Regions from separate parts of the Homo sapiens genome. Here regions 2, 3, 4, 5 and 6 are each linked to region 1. The links are contacts of gene promoters, found by promoter capture Hi-C in blood cells and fetal thymus (Javierre and others, 2016). All regions are on one chromosome and are shown on one strand. Each heading gives the region's core, a stretch centred on a gene start or on the middle of the fragment in contact. The rest is flanking DNA. Distances are from core to core; before and after follow the strand shown.

Evidence for each region. The method cuts DNA at HindIII sites, captures the fragments that hold promoters and counts their contacts. A CHiCAGO score of 5 or more calls a contact.
Region 2: a fragment that was not itself captured here is called in contact with the fragment with the promoter of AQR in region 1 in 2 of 17 cell types (naive B cells and total B cells); the score reaches 7.2 in naive B cells.
Region 3: a contact is called between a fragment that was not itself captured here and the fragment with the promoter of AQR in region 1, in 1 of 17 cell types (total B cells). The highest score is 5.9, in total B cells.
Region 4: a fragment that was not itself captured here is called in contact with the fragment with the promoter of AQR in region 1 in 1 of 17 cell types (non-activated CD4 T cells); the score reaches 5.3 in non-activated CD4 T cells.
Region 5: a fragment that was not itself captured here is called in contact with the fragment with the promoter of AQR in region 1 in 5 of 17 cell types (non-activated CD4 T cells, total CD4 T cells, activated CD4 T cells and 2 more); the score reaches 8.7 in non-activated CD4 T cells.
Region 6: a fragment that was not itself captured here is called in contact with the fragment with the promoter of AQR in region 1 in 1 of 17 cell types (total B cells); the score reaches 6.0 in total B cells.

The regions. Positions count from the first base shown.
Region 1 is chr15:34,968,453-34,971,048 of GRCh38, forward strand. It overlaps AQR (aquarius intron-binding spliceosomal factor), which reads right to left and starts at 1,290. Exons shown (of 35, transcript NM_014691.3): 1 at 1,087-1,290. The coding sequence starts at 1,161. RefSeq lists enhancers at 1,084-1,233, 1,284-1,393. The HindIII fragment of the contact is 5,969 bases long and covers 265-2,596 here.
Region 2 is chr15:38,669,323-38,671,918 of GRCh38, forward strand. It overlaps LOC105370775 (a long non-coding RNA gene), which reads left to right and starts at 2,573. Exons shown (of 2, transcript XR_007064584.1): 1 at 2,573-2,596. RefSeq lists enhancers at 1,095-1,164, 2,298-2,417. The HindIII fragment of the contact is 1,001 bases long and covers 794-1,794 here.
Region 3 is chr15:38,648,916-38,651,511 of GRCh38, forward strand. No RefSeq gene overlaps it. Among named protein-coding and RNA genes, the nearest start is that of LINC02694, 46 kb to the right of the region's middle. The HindIII fragment of the contact is 935 bases long and covers 821-1,755 here.
Region 4 is chr15:38,548,876-38,551,471 of GRCh38, forward strand. All of the region lies in intron 2 of RASGRP1 (RAS guanyl releasing protein 1), which reads right to left. Among named protein-coding and RNA genes, the nearest start is that of RASGRP1, 15 kb to the right of the region's middle. The HindIII fragment of the contact is 2,632 bases long and covers 1-2,596 here.
Region 5 is chr15:38,458,655-38,461,250 of GRCh38, forward strand. All of the region lies in intron 1 of FAM98B (family with sequence similarity 98 member B), which reads left to right. It also overlaps the pseudogene LOC100422645. Among named protein-coding and RNA genes, the nearest start is that of FAM98B, 5.8 kb to the left of the region's middle. The HindIII fragment of the contact is 9,186 bases long and covers 1-2,596 here.
Region 6 is chr15:38,427,673-38,430,268 of GRCh38, forward strand. No RefSeq gene overlaps it. Among named protein-coding and RNA genes, the nearest start is that of FAM98B, 25 kb to the right of the region's middle. The HindIII fragment of the contact is 672 bases long and covers 961-1,632 here.

The DNA.
Region 1 (2,596 bases), core at 40-2,539:
TTTCACCGTGTTAGCCAGGATGGTCTCGATCTCCTGACCTCGTGATCCGCCCGCCTCGGCCTCCCAAAGTGCTGGGATTACAGGCGTGAGCCCCTGCGCCCGGCCGGAAGGCAGAAATTTTAAGAAGGCAAGTGATATGATGAGATTTGCACTTGTATGAAATCACTCGGAAAGCAACATGAAGAATGGGCTAGAGCAGAGCAAGAGGAAGGACAATATAACAGATTACGATACCTTGGTCCAGGCAGAAAACAATGGCAACCAAGCTTAGGGTGACAGAGATGTAGAACACCAGATAGATTCAAAAGATATTTAGAATGTAGAAATGTAGGGACTAAGGGAAAGGGAGGATTCAAAATCACTCCCTAGGCTTCTGCCCTGGCAAATCTGTTGAGACAAGGAATAAAGAATAAAGAAGCAGGTGGGCATGATAACTTCTACATTGAACTACTTACACTCTTATGCAATTCACAAATAAATAATAAGAATGAGGAATGATGCTGACAACCACAGGACTGTGGTTCCCTATCCAAAGCCAACTGTGGCTCACAATGCAAGATAGTAAACAGATTCTAAATGAACGCTCTCAAACTACAGAATTACTCTGTTTTTAGATAGGTCTATTTGGAGGTGTCTTGTCAGTTTCTCATCGCTGCTCAAAAACTCAGGACACTCTAAGGACCAGGAAAAAGCCTACTCCTACTTGAAGAGGCAGTCCAGCATCACTCTGCTGCGAAGCCTACTTGCCAGTCTCAGATAGACTGGGGTGTTCCCTCCTCTCTGAATCCATTGCTCCTGAGACAAACTCCAACACAGCAAAACTCATACAGTAGTTTTATTTTCATGCGTCTGTCTTCCTTGGGCCATGAACTCCCCAGGGCAGGGCAGCTTCTTTCACCACGGTATGCCCAGCACCTAGCATAGTGGCCGGCACGGAGCTGATACTCAGTAAAAAGACGTGTGTGAATCAATTAACAAACGAATGCCTCCTCCGGACTCCTAAATCCTGAAAAAAAACCCCACCACCAGGCCTCGGGGCCACGACGTCCATACCCACTCACACACACCAGACTCGCCCGAGCTCACCTGGGTCACGAACTCCGCATTGATTTGGGACACCGTAGGGGCCACGATCTTCTTGGGCTGCGCAGGGGCTGCCATGGCAGCACTCTTCCCTCCACTCCAGTGGAAACTAAAGGACCGCTCTGGGCAGCGGCAACCCTGGTCCACTTCCCTTAAGTTACTGCCGGGGCGCTTAACTCCGCGCCGCACAAACGCTCCGGGCCGGATATCCTCAGCCTTCAGAGTCCCGTAGGGAACCCGTACAACAGCCCAAGCGTTCCTCGGGAAGCGGAATGGCGTGTAGCCGGAAGTTCATGCAGGCGTTGGGGCTGAGCTAGCGAGCCAAGAGCTTTGACCTCCTCTGTACACGCCCTCTAGCGGGCGGCAGAGAGAAGACACCTCGCTGGCGGGATTAGGAGGGCAAGGGAGGGACCCGGTGGATGGTGTTGGGTGGGGTTTCTCGTGGTTAGTGAAGAGTGCCGTGTGCGGTGAATGGGGATTTAGTTTTTTTTCAACCCTAAAGAAAAAACAAAACAAAACAAAAAAAACAGCCTGGGAATATGGGCTGGGTTTTAACTGCCCTTAACAGTGTTTTAGTTTAGTTTTGTTTTTTTTGAGACGGAGTTTCGCTCTTGTTGCCCAGGCTGCAATGCAATGGTGCAATCTCGGCTCACAGCAACCTCTGCCTCCCGGGTTCAAGCGATTCTCCTGCCTCAGCCTCCCGTGTTGTTGGGATTACAGGCATGCGCCACCATGCACAGCTAATTTTTGTATTTTTAGTAGACACAGGGTTTCTCCGTATTGGTCAGGCTGGTCTCGAACTCACCAACTTTAGGTAATCCGCCTGCCTCAGGGTCCCAAAGTGCAGGGATTACAGGCCTTAACAGTTTTATGGAGGTAAAAATTGACATACAATAACCCAGCCAGGCGCGGTAGTCACGCCTGTAATCCCAGCGTTTTGGGAGGCTGAAGCTGGCCGATTGCCTGAGGTCAGGAGTTTGAGACCAGCCTGGCTAACATGGTGAAAACCCATCTCTACTAAAAAACAAAATTTAGCCGGGCGTGGTGGCGCGCGCCTGTAGTTCCAGCTACTCGGATTCAGGAGAATAATCACTTGAAGCTGGGAGGCGGAGGTTGCAGTGAGCCGAGATTGCGCCATTGCACTCCAGCTTGGTGACAGAGCGAGACTAGCCTCAAAAAATAAAAATAAAATAATAATAAAAATAATTCACATACAATAACCCACACATATTTAGGTTGTAAAATTTGATGCGTTTTGACATGAACATACATTTGTGAAACTATTGCCAAAATCATAATGAGCATATCAAAGCCTCTAAAAGTTTCCTCGTGAACTTTTGCTATCTGTGCCTTTCACTGTTCCCACCCACTTTTCAGGCAACCACTGATCTGCTTTCTGTCACTATAGTTTGCTTTTCATGGAATTTTATATAAATGAAATAATACAGTGCATGCCTTCTTTCACTCAACGAAATGATTTTGAGATGGATTCATGTTGTTGCATGTATCAGTA
Region 2 (2,596 bases), core at 44-2,543, 3.7 Mb after region 1:
TGTAGCTCAAAATGTCAGCTCAGCTTAAAAGAAACTAGTGGTTAATTCAAATTCTGCTGATTTTTTATGGGACAAATGTTTGAACAATAGTGCAATCCTGCCAAGCCAAGCATAGTAAGACCCAAGTCTAATCAGAACTGGCACTTAGGGGTTGTATATGTGTGTGTTTTGACGGAGAATGTTCATGAGACCAAGAAAGTGGGCTCCCTTTGATCATCAATCACCCTCTCACATACATTTTTTTCTTTTCTTTTCCTTTTTTTTTTTTTTTTTTTTGAGACAGAGTCTCATTCTGCTGTCTAGATTGGAGTGCAGTGGTGTGATCTTGGCTCACTGCAACCTCTACCTCCTGGGCTCAAGCCATCCTCCCACCTCAGCCTCCTAAGTAGCTGGGACTACAGGTGTGCACCACACTGTCTAATTTTTGTATTTTTTTGTAGAGATGGGTTTCACCACATTGCCCAGGGTGGTCTTGACCTCCTGAGTTCAAGCGATATGCCTGTCTTGGCCTCCCAAAGCGCTGGGATTACAGGCATGAGCCACTGTGTTTGGCCTTTTAAAAACTTTGATAAGAACCTGAGATCTAATTGTGGTAGGGAAAAGCAGAAAGGAATGGGATAAAGCAGCATCATCTTTATAGACACTCGTGTGCAGTGTATATGCAGCTTATAACACGGCCACACATCCTTAAAACTGGGATTAACTGAGGCACTTGAAGGAGAGTGTGCTGGATAATGAAGTTTGTATTTAGACAAGCGTTCACAGAAAGCTTTTGCTTTCCTACTGCTATTGAAGCTTTTGAAAAAGAAGTTTCTATGTTTTCTTCCAGTTCCAGTTGTCTATTGTTATATAACAAACTACCACACAATTTAGTGGCTTAAAACAACCACCATTTTATTTGTGAGTCATAAATTTGGAGAGGGCTCTACTAGGCAGTCATTCAGTTCTATATTGCTTCTGCTGGTTTCACTTGGCTACATTTCAAAAGGTGTTACCACATCTGGTACCTCAGTGCTATTCCACCCTGACCCTCTTTCTGTCTCTCTTATTATGGCTAGTGTGGGCTCTTCACAGACTGGTGGCCACAGGGTAGGTAGATGTCTTGCATGGTGGCTGTGTTTCAAGAAAGTGTTGCAAGTCACATAGAAAAGCTGAAAAATCTCTTAAGGGTCAGCCTTGGAAATTACTAAGTGTCACTTCTACTGCATTCTATTGGTCAAAATAACTACAAGGCCAGCCCAGATTCAAGAGAAGGGGAAATTTATGTCAACTCTCAATGGCCTCCCAATGACAAAGAATGTGTGGCCATCTTTATGGCACCACACGGAACTCACCGCCTGCAAAATCTGCATTTTGTTTGTTGATTAAGGAGTGTGTGGTACCTCCAGACCATAATTTAAGATGTGAATGATGATTGCCTAGTTCTGCAGATGCAGGAAATGTGGTGAATCCCAGCATCAGTTAAAGATGCTTTCAGCTGTGAAAAACAGAAAACCTAATTCAAATCAGTTAACGTCATATGACATTTCTTTGCTTACAAGGCAGGAAGTCCAGAGGTGGGGGGTGTTCCTCAGGGTTGGTTGAGCCAATGTCTTAGTGATGTCATTAAGTGATGTCTCATTACTCTCATTCTCTTCTGTGACATTCCCAGGGTTGGCTGGTTGGCTTCATCCTAAGTCTGGCTCTTCTTACGGTGGGATGGCTATCAGTAGTCATTGTGGCTGCTTTCTTTCTTATTCACATTCAGTGAGAGAGAGACTACTATTTGTGGTTCTTTCTTAAAACTGAGAAAGAAGCTTCCAGAAGACATTATCAAATCTATTCTCTAGTCTTATTGACCAGAATTGGCTCACATGGCCATTTCTGAACCAATCACTGCCAAGAGGAAAGTGATATTCATATGCTAGTTTGTCCCATTCTGGATCTGAGGGTGGGATCAGCATCTTTGAGACATGGGCTGTAGGAAACAAAAATCAAAGTGGGGATTATATTGGTAAAAAAAAAAAGAAGGCAATCGATTTTGTATATGCAACCAAGAATGTCATTGTATTGCTTTAAAAATAATTTTGGGGCATCGATTCATTTTCCTAAGAGAAAAAATAAAAATTCCTTTTGAGAGTTCAGTTTAGGGAGAAATTAATTGTAGAACGAGCAACATTATGGAGACAGACCTGGTTAGAATTCTGTTTTCCTACTGAGAGAGTAATCTCCCTAAAGTCTCCATCTTCCCTCCGTTGAACCAGGATAACAGTACATGCTTCTTAGGGTCAGAATTAAAAAGTGATAATGTGTGCAGGATACCAAGACAAAGTAAATAGTCCTAATTTGAGAATACATGAGTACACAAATGGGAGGTTCCCCTGATCAGACAGTGGGGTATTTCCGAAGGTCTATGGGTGGAGGGGATGTGGAGCACAGTCGTATCTGAAAGCTCAGAATGCAAACTTTCGCAACTAGAACCATCTGGAGTGAGAGGGGTGGTGATACAGAGCTGGGACAGATTTCTCTGGGTGTTTCCTCCCCTACAGCATGTTTTTTAGAAGTGAAATCAGGTTACGAAGAGCACTAAGGCAGCTTTGAAGGGGAAGTCCTGAGA
Region 3 (2,596 bases), core at 38-2,537, 3.7 Mb after region 1:
ATGAGCTCCATAAAAATGGAAACAGGGTGCTCTGCTTGGTTTTTCAGAAAAATGGAAATAGCGGCCTCACACATAGAGTTGACATTCCTGAGATTATCCAGTAGATCTGGACTCTGGAGCTCTGAGTCTAAATGTACTGCTATCCAGACAGAGTCTGCAGAGGGACCTCTTGTCATTAACTACTGTGCACCTACAATTTGTTATCAATGAAATGTGTGTAGCTTTTATTTCATGGCCTTGGGAAGCATCCTTAAATCTTTTATCCTTTAGTTTCTTCATCTGAGGTTAACAATATATGTATTTTGAAAGGCTATAGAAACTGGGAAGAAACATTTGCAACTTATAGCACAAAGAGTTAATAACCATAATATGTAAAGAGCTTCAAAAAATATAGAAGAAAAAAGCCAACACATCTATGAAAAATGGGTTGGAAATATGAGCAGAGAGTTCACAGAAAAAGAAAGGAAAATGGATCCTGCATATATGAAAAGACTCTCAACCATACTTTCAGTGAATACACTTTCAAACTTCATTGAGATACAATATTCTCTCCTGTCAGGCTGACAAAAATCTAAAAGATTGACAGCATATTTTGTTGGTGAGGCTGTGGTGAAATAGATGCTTCCATACATTGCTAGTGGGAATGTAAAATGGCATAAGCCTCATGAATGGGAATTTGATATATCTAGTAAAATTACATATGCATTTTCCCTTTGATCCAGTAATCCAACTTCTAGGAATCTATCCAAAAATATGTTGTAAAACTACACAAATACTTTTATATGTGACTATACATTGCAGCATTGTTTATAATAGCAAAAGCTTGGAAATTGGTTGAATAAGGCAATGGAAGGTCCACTCAGTGGAATACTATGCAGCTATAAACAACAAGAAGACGACCTCTGTATTAGTCTGCTTTCATGCTGCTGATAAAGACAGATTTGAGACTGGGCAATTTATAAAAGAGGTATATAATGGACTTACAGTTCCACATGGCTGGGGAAGCCTCACAATCATGGTGGAAGGTGAAAGGCACATCTCACATGGCATCAGACAAGAGAAGAGAGCTTGTTCAGGGAAACTCCCCTTTTTAAAACCATCAGATCTTGTGAGACTCATTCGCTGTCACGAGAATAGCATGGGAAACACCCGTCCCCGTAATTCAATCACCTCCCACGACATGTGGAAATTATGGAAGTTTCAATTCCAGATGAGATTTGGGTGGGGACACAGCCAAACCATATCAACCTCTATACATTGCCATGAAGCGATGACCCCAATAACATGTTCAGTGAGGAGAATTCTTGGCCCTTGTGTATTTTTTTTTTCTTTAAGTAATCTGCATTGAACAAGTCTTAAATTTACAGTTAGAAAAATCAATAGTATATTTTGTTTTATTTTGAATTACCCAGAAGCTCATGAACTTTCTGACCAAAATCCTTTCCCAGAAAGTTTGTCAGTTGAGAACCTGTGAAGTCCAATTCATTTATATGTTAAGATTTGTGCTATGGGATGTTGACAGCCTGGTGAAATTGACCCAGCCTGGCATGATCCTGGAGTCTATTTGAAAGGTGCAGGTTCAGAAAGCAGAGTGCTTCACAGGCTGCCACATTCCTCTGAAGATAATCTGCAGGTTGTACCTGCTGCCACTAGGCTGTTAGGCTGCCTAGGGGATGGTTGCTGGCTGGATTAACCAGATTTGCCATTGGCAGGTGGGAGATTTGCACCCCCAGAATTAGGCTTGCTACTCCATTAAGCTTTTGACCACCTAATTTAAACCATATTATTATTTTCTAAATAGGCAACACATTTACATTTTAAAATGCAAAGAGTACAAAAAGATAGGCCATGAAATGTCTTTCTGACCTGGTTCCCCAGGCATGAAGTTTCCCTCCCAAAGGCAACTAATCTGATAGGAGAATGAGGAAAGGAAGAGGAAGAAAGTCAATAAGGCCAATATTGGGAAGGTTACACTTGAGGAGACCTGGGGCTCAAACCTTCTAGGGCACTGGGAGCCAGTGTAAAATTTATCCTGTCTTGTGGATTTTAGATAATCTGTGTGTATAGGGGAGATATTTTATACAGCAGCAGCAGGCTATCCACATTGTGCCATACCTCGCTTTTGTGTGACTTAATATCTCTTGGTAATTGTTCCATGTCAGTGCCCAAAAAGCTTCCTCATTCTTTTTTTTGCAACTGTTCAGTTATCTATTTATGGTTACATCATATTATATTTAACCCATTCTTTACTGGTGTCTGCTCCCATTTGTTGTTCCATTTTGAGCACCAGATTTTAAAACTCATTCCTATAGGACACACAAAGGATTTTATTTCCTAGGAAGAGCTCCATGGCTCCCTGACTTGCTCAACTGTTTTAAACCCCCACCCCACATGGAATAAGCACACTTCACCATTCTCTCACAACAACAATTAAGTCAACTTATCTTTGAATAAGTAGCTGGGGGTGGCGGGGACACACCCCTGAAGTGTGGGTTTAGGTTTGTTTGATTGGGGCGTGTGCTGGGGTGGGTGGAGCAGGATGAAGAATTCTTCATTAGTGTTTCTCATGTTTGAAGTCAGATCTTCTTTCCTAGCT
Region 4 (2,596 bases), core at 46-2,545, 3.6 Mb after region 1:
ACACTGGTAGTTACTGACAAGGTAATGAGACTCTTAGGCACTGGGACAGAGAGGGTGGGGGGACCACAGACACAATAAATGTAGGGAGCTTTTCCTTTAGGGATTAAAGCAAGCCAAACAGTCAGGTGGACCCCAGCATCCATTCCCGAGAGCAAGTGCTCATCCTTGGCAATAAACGAAGACTGAGTCCAGGGCCAGAGGCGAGGGTCCTATGGCTCCCATCTGGGAAGCAGCCCCTCAGAAATGGCAGTAATTCACAGTCTGGACTGAACTCCCCAGGACTGGAGGTAAATGGTGAACCCACCAAGGTAGGTTTGGATGAAGTAAATATGGAATCCAATTGTGGTGCTCATGAACTGGGAAGGAGGAAGGGCAGAGAGTGTGAAAAATCCCCTATGCATTTGGCATTTAATAAGTGAATCCAAAATTAACCAGTGATTAATTGCTCATCAGATTTAAGGATGTTCCATAGTCTATAACTACATTCCAGCAAGATAGACTCATAGATGATTAACAGGGACATTTCTTGGCTTCCTGAATATTGTGGGTTCCCCCTTAAAATGAGGCTGTTCACAAGATTACAAAACCAAGTCCTATACCATGATTCAGATAGATCAGTGAAGAGGAGACAGACATAGCTCCATTTGCTCCTCCAACTAGAAATCCTCACTTTCTGGCAAAGATATACCTTTGATAAGTTCTTGGATGGCTTCATCCCAAACTGCCTTACTTTTCTGGTGACTGCATTCTTTGTTACAAAACCGGCAATCCCTGCTTCCCTCTTCCCCTCTGCTTCCCTCTTCCCCCTCTAGTCTCTACTCCCTTTGTCCATTTCAATGAATCACTGGTGTCCTTCTAAGTACATCTCCATCCTAGGAAGCATCTTCTGCTTGAAGGCTCTAGTGAGAACCTCAGCAATCTCTCCAGGGCCCTTGACTACTCTTTGGGGAAAAAAAAACAAGTAGTTAACATGGCTTCCTTCACACCACTGCCCACCATCTCTTCTGTGCTGCTGAAGAATCACAGATGTACCAAATCTTTGTGCTTCTGCTACGTATCTCACCCAGTTGCTAACTTAATATTCCCTTAGAAGGTTAATAGGCTGGGCACAGTGGCTCATGCCTGTAATCCCAGCACTTTGAGAGGACGAGGCAGGTGGATCTCTTGAGCTCAGGAGTTCAAGGCCAGCCTGGGCAACATGGTGAAACCCCATCTCTACTAAAAATAGAAAAATTAGCTGGCTCTGGTGGTGCACACCCAGCTACTCGGGTGGCTGAGGCACGAGAATCACTTGAACCCAGGAGGTGGAGGTTGCAGTGAGCCCAGATCATGCCACCATACTCCAGCCTGGGTGAGACTCTGTCGCCAAAAAAAAAAAAAAAAAGAAAAGAAAAGAAAAAAAAGTTAATACAGACAAAAGATCTTTTCTTGTTTCTGAAAGTAAAGTTTCTCTTCAGCAAACCCCATCTCACTTTCACTGTAATACAAAATAAAAAAAAGTTCACATCAAGAATTTTTAATGGAAGTTTTGTGTTTCCTTCATTTATTACAACTGTAATCAGCCATAGTTACTGCAATTAGCATGTAGCATTGAAAAGAACTGAGTACTCTTCTTTTCTTGTAATGTCTTTAATTCCTCATTACCATCATTTCAGTTGCCAAGCAACCTTCACTTTTATGTCCTATATTTGAAGGGACTAAGCAGAATTATTTTTAAAAAATCAATTTTAAAATAGAAGAGCAACCTTGTGTGCTAGCATACCTCTTTATAAATAATAATATTGATTTCAAGATCAAAATTGTTTAAGATATAAATTATGGGAAGCAAAAAGTTATAGTGAGTTTATCACCAAAAAGTTACTGTGATTATAATACATGTAAATATCCATAGAAGAGAATCAAGAAAGGCACACCCATGAAAGTTGATAGTGCTTATCTTGCTCTTGATGGTAAAATGAGTGACGGTAATTTTTTTCTTTTTGCCAGTCTGTATTTTCTACGTTCTCTATGGTGAACATGAATAATTTTAAAAGTTATTAACATTTATAAAGTAAGTATAAATGCTGAGGGACAGTTAGATCTTTGCAAATACAAGAACTTATAAAATAGTGGGAACTAAATGAGACTACATATGTAAAATATTAACATAAACACTGTGTTATTCATAGTAAATGCTCAAAAGTTAGCTATTACTAAAATAATATTTTAAAAGTCTATGCTAGTGGTTGATCTTATGTATATCTTACCACAAAGTCTATGTAAGAACAAGAAACAGTCTAAATTAATAATTTTTAAAGACTGAGTTAAAAATTTGTTGGGTTTCTAAGACTCCATCCTAAGAATATTGACTCTTCAAATATATCCAAAAGCACATTCTTAAAATATGCAAATTCCTGAAGGACTTTCTTCAAGTTTAATATCGTGATGGAGATACCCCATTACACCTTCTTCCAGACACTTTAAGTCTCAGAAATCATTTTAATGGTATCACAGCGAGAAACGGAGGCTCTGAGTTACAAAGCGACCAGTCCAAGCGCTGTGGTTTTAAGGAAATGACAATCTCAGAAACAAAACTGAAGGCTTCTTTTTTGCCAGC
Region 5 (2,596 bases), core at 71-2,570, 3.5 Mb after region 1:
GGCCCTCCAGCTTTCACTCTGTCCGTCAGGTGATCCTAAAGGCACAGCATAGGAAAGACCCTTACTGGGATGACCACTGCTTGGAAGCAGGGAAGGCTAAGAGGCCTGCCCCTACCCAAGGCTGGTATAGATGTCCTCTGCTCTGCTTCTCAAAGACTGGGAACAGGTTCAGCAACTCAGTATCTGCCATGTCATCAAACCAGGACTGCACAGGCACTGCATTCTCTGGGTGGAAGATGTAAGAAGCAGACAAGTTGTCCAGGATGAGGGTTTTCCTCAGGTTCCTCCCCAGGCGGCTGAGGTTCCTGACTTAGCAGCCCTGGTGGAACCACAGGACTCATGGAATAGGTGAGCCCGGAACACCCCACACCGGCCAGCAGATCCGTCACAGGGTTGGCATACTTGGCCAGGTTGGCAGTGAAGGGAACACATTCAAAGAGTTCTCTCATTCGTCTCTTTCCACGTGAGCTCTTTTGAGGACAGAAACCTGCTTGAGTGGTCTCCTCAATCTCTGTAGGCACTGTGAAGCTAGCATTGTTGCTGGGCTTAAAGATGCACAAGGGCTTCATCCAGGTCAGTGACCACACAGATCCTCCTTTGATCTTCCTCTGTCACCTTGGGGCAGACACGTCCCTGGGATCCGATAAAACTGGTACTGGAGACACTGGAGCAGATCCGACTTAGCAGTGGTGTTGGCTTCCTCCTTATATGGATGAGCTCAGTGGAAGAGCTTGACTGGCCATGCTGGATGCGAAAATAGCAGACAAGGGCCTTGAAGATGTTATATCCACGAGGCTTCTTAAGGAGGGCTTGGAGACCAGGCCTTGCTTGGTGAGCACCAGGGCATCTTCCCCTGTGCCTGGGTGATGATGGAACTGTGCTCCATCTAATTCCACAGGTGCGGGCTGGTTGGGTGGAAGAACCAGTGAGCCCATGGTCTGGGCTGGGCTGGGGGGCCTGGGTTTGGGCTTGCTGCAACTCCTGAGACTCCCGACTCCCACAGCTGTTTACATACCCCCTCTCCTTTCCTCCCTGGGCTGCGAAGCGAGGTGGCCTGTACCAAGGGTGGGCGCCCGGAGATGGGCTCCCTTGGGTACCCTGGCTCCAGTCTCCTAGCAGCAGCTCTGGGCTTCTCAGTTTGGGTCCAAAATGGAGAATCCAGAGTGAAAACAAGAGAGGAATAATCTTTCTGAGAAGAAATGGACAGTATAGCAAAATATCCACTGTGTTGTAGATGAAAGATAGTGGACATTTTTAGGAAGCAGAGAGAGGTAGAGAGTTGGATGAGGGGCAAAGACAATAGGTTGGGTAAATGATGGGAAAAGAAAGGGTCTTCTGTTTTATCTCTTGGCTGATGAAAATAGAAAGTAAATTAGGCCCTGGTTGTATTGTTGAGGAGAGTTGCCAGCAGCCCTAATGGACTGAAGATTTGGATCACCCAGCTTGAAGTAGTGTCTGACCAGCAACTATGCTTCCAGGGTATGAGGCTTTGAGGGAGGGCCTAGGCCTAGGGGAGATGTTCCCAGTGTTTGGAATAACAGTAGCACTTTGATGAATAACTAAGAATATATAGAACAAACTAGGAGCATGGTTATTCTCTGTAAACGCAGAATGGCATTGGAAATCAAAGCCAGTATGAAATAAATGTGGTAAACACTAAACAGTTGCTAAATGTAGCATAAATAGACTCTTAAATGCCTGCTGTAATTTCTCATGTACTGCAAGAGGAGAAGGAGTGATGATAAATATTGAGAGTTTTTTTTTTTAAATGAAAGTAAAAAAATAAGTACTATGCTGCTTAAGAGAGGTCTGTGGACTAGCAGCGTCATCATCACCTGGGGAGTAGAAATGCAGAATCCCAGACATCATTCCAGCTCTACTGAATTAGAATCTTTATTTTAACAAGACCCTCAGGAGATTCATATGCACATAAAAGTTTAAGAAGTACTGTTCTAGCCAGAAAAGTGCTTTCATATTCTTATTCGGTTATCTAGCAGAATATACTTAGACACTTCTATTGCCTAAGACAATTAGATACATTTCTGGATGGTGACAGAACAATACAGGCTAAGAGTGTGGGGCTATGGAGGTAGGTTGTGTGGCTCAGTTCCGGGACAGTTGTTAGCTATGATTATGGCCATCCCGGATGAATTATTTACCTTTATCATCCTGAGCTTCCTCATCTGTAAAATGAAGCTAATAATAGTATCTACCTTATAGGGTATTGTGGCAACTAAATGAGACAATTTATATAAATTGTTTAGCACTGACCCAACATACAGTTAGCACTTTCTAAATGTTAGCCACTATTGCGATTTTGATTGTTACTAGATGGTCAGGTATGTTAAATGCATTTATTTGTTCCTCTTTTTATTTTTACTTCATCTGATGAGCTAAGGCATTAAAGATTGGATTTTTTTTTCCAAATTCAGAATTTTTTGTGATTTGATCAGTTCTTGTTGGTTTTTATTATTGACATTTCAGTTAAAAAAACTTACATCAATATGAATTAAATTTCTTCAAGAGTTTATGAGTATTGCTTTATTGCAGAAATGAAAGCAAATAAGAGGATATAAGATGTTTACTATGAAATCTC
Region 6 (2,596 bases), core at 47-2,546, 3.5 Mb after region 1:
GGATCCAGCATTCTCCATTCTCTTCTCCAGTCAGAAACATTGAATTGCCAAATATATTTTCCTGAAAATCTCTCTCTCTCGTCTCTCTCTCTCTTCATCTCTTTTGAGACTGGCTCTAGCTATATAACCCAGGCTGGTCACAAACTTCTGGCCTCAAGCAATCCTCCCACCTCAGCCTCCTGAGTACCTGAGTAGCTGGAATTACAACCACAAGCCACCATGCCTGACTAAAAACCTCTTTTTGTCTTGATATTCCTCTAATCAGAAATCTGCATTGGCACTTTAGTTCCTACCAGATAAAATAGAAATCTGGAGGTCTGGTGTTTCAAGACTGGTCTCAATCTACATTTCCAAACTTATATTCCATTCCTCTCCCTTTTGGAGGTCTTCTCCTGGCCCGAGCTGTCCTGGTTACTCTTTCCATAATTGTTTTCAACTTCCTTACCTTAACCCCTTTCTGGAATGTCTTCTTTCTCACCCAGGTTGAAATTTTACTCTTCAGTCAAAGCCCCACTCCCTTCCTGTGCCTTGGTGGAAGAGTTTTCTCCACTGCTGCTGGTCTGTAATGGCCTCTCCTGCCTCTGAGGTGCTATTAAGACTGACTGCCTATGTTACTTTTGGCCTTGACTATAACTAGTAACTATAGCTTTGAAAACAGGATGATATTGGATTATTATTTATTTTCCCCTCAGGGTATATAGTTCAGCACCTTGTACAAAATATGCATTCAACAAACAGAAGTCAATTTATTGAATATTAGATGTTATTTATTAGTTACTTAGAAATATAACCTCATATAAATGTCAAGAGTATGGGGGTTTGAATGGTAATTCTTCTACATCAAAGCATGGCATAGTAGGTACTGTGAAATGCACCCTGCTCTCCCCCATTGAATATGTATGCACACACACACACACACACACATACAAACACACACACACACACACACACACACACACAAGCTTATCTTTGGAGTTCAGGTGAGAGCATCTTAACCTCAGAAAACGTTATCAGGCTTGTATTAGTCAAGAGTAACTCCTAAAAGTAGCTTGAACAAAGTAGCTTTAAAAAACAGGAGCGTATTAGCCTCTGTGATGGGCAATTCAAGAGATGGATTTTTTAGGCAGAGCTAGATTGAGGGGTTCCAGTGTGCCCCAGCTCTGCTTTAATCCATGTTGATTTAATTCTCAGGCAAATTCTTTCCACGCGATGATGGAATAACTCCAAGTTCAAGTCCTTACAATGGGAGATCCCAGAGAACAGAGAGCATCTCTTTCCAATACCATAGAGACCTGCTCTATGAGTGACCACTGCTTTCTTATTGATGATGTCCCTGGAACTATTCTGCTACATCCATGTATTACAGGGGACACCCCGTGGCAATCCTAATCCCTAGTTAATCCCCACTTTCCTAATCCTACTTCAGAAGCAGCCTCCAATCCAGAACCGATGTTCAGTTCCTGGATCCTGCTCAAAATCCTTCAGTGAAACACACACTGTACAGAAGACGTTTCCTGCTCCTTCTTGTTGAGTGGTCTGCCACAGTGCTTCTGCCATGTGCTCCCTCACTGAAAATCAATACATCTGATTTTGTCAGATTATACATTGTGCCCAGTGGTCTTTGGCTAATTAAGCTTTAACAGGGAAAGAGGAGAAATGAGCTGCTATATATTGCTTTTACCCTAAATTAGTCCCTAGAGGATGTTTTCTGATCATATTTTTTTCCTGTGTCCTTGACTTCCTTAAGCAGCGCCTGTTCATTTTCACTGGAAATGTTCCAAATGGATCAGAATAATTTTGACATTGTGTCACCAGGGACATCCTCCTTTTAATATCTAGCATCACACAAAAACAAACATTGCATTAGTCCTGAAAGAGTTCTGACTCTACATAATTAATTTTCAACACAAAACTAATATAAATAGGAATGTGGAAAAAATAGGTATTAAAGGTAAAATGGAGGCTGGGCACAGTGGATCATGTCTGTAATCCCAACACTTTGGGAGGCTGAGGCAGGAAGATCACTCGGGCCCATGAGTTCAAGACCAGCCTGAGCAACATGGTGAGACCTCATTTCTACAAAAACATACAAAAATTAGCCAGATGTGGTGTGTGTGCCTGTACTCCCAACTAATCAGGAGGCTGAGGTGGGAGGATCACATGAGCCTGGGACGTTGAGGCTGCAGTGAGCCATGATGTGGGTTTGAATGGTAATTCTTCTACATTAAAGCATGGCATGGTAGGTACTGTGAAATGCACCCTGCTCTCCGCCATTGAATATGTATGCACACACACACAGCCTGGGTGGTAGAGCAAGACCTTATCTCAAAAAAAAAATTTAAAGATAAGATGGAAATGGAAATATGACAGATCAAGATAGTGACTGCTTGTAGCCCAATGTAAACTTATCTGTTTGAATTTCTTCTCTTTAGAAGCTTATTTCTATACCATTAAGTTCATGTTATCTGTGCTGCTTAACAAACCTATTTGCCAACTTCAAATAACTATTTCACCAACCTCGTGGATTCTTTGGGTCAAGAATTCAGAAAGGATACAGTGGGGATGGCTTATCTCCTTTTGGTATATCTGGGACCTC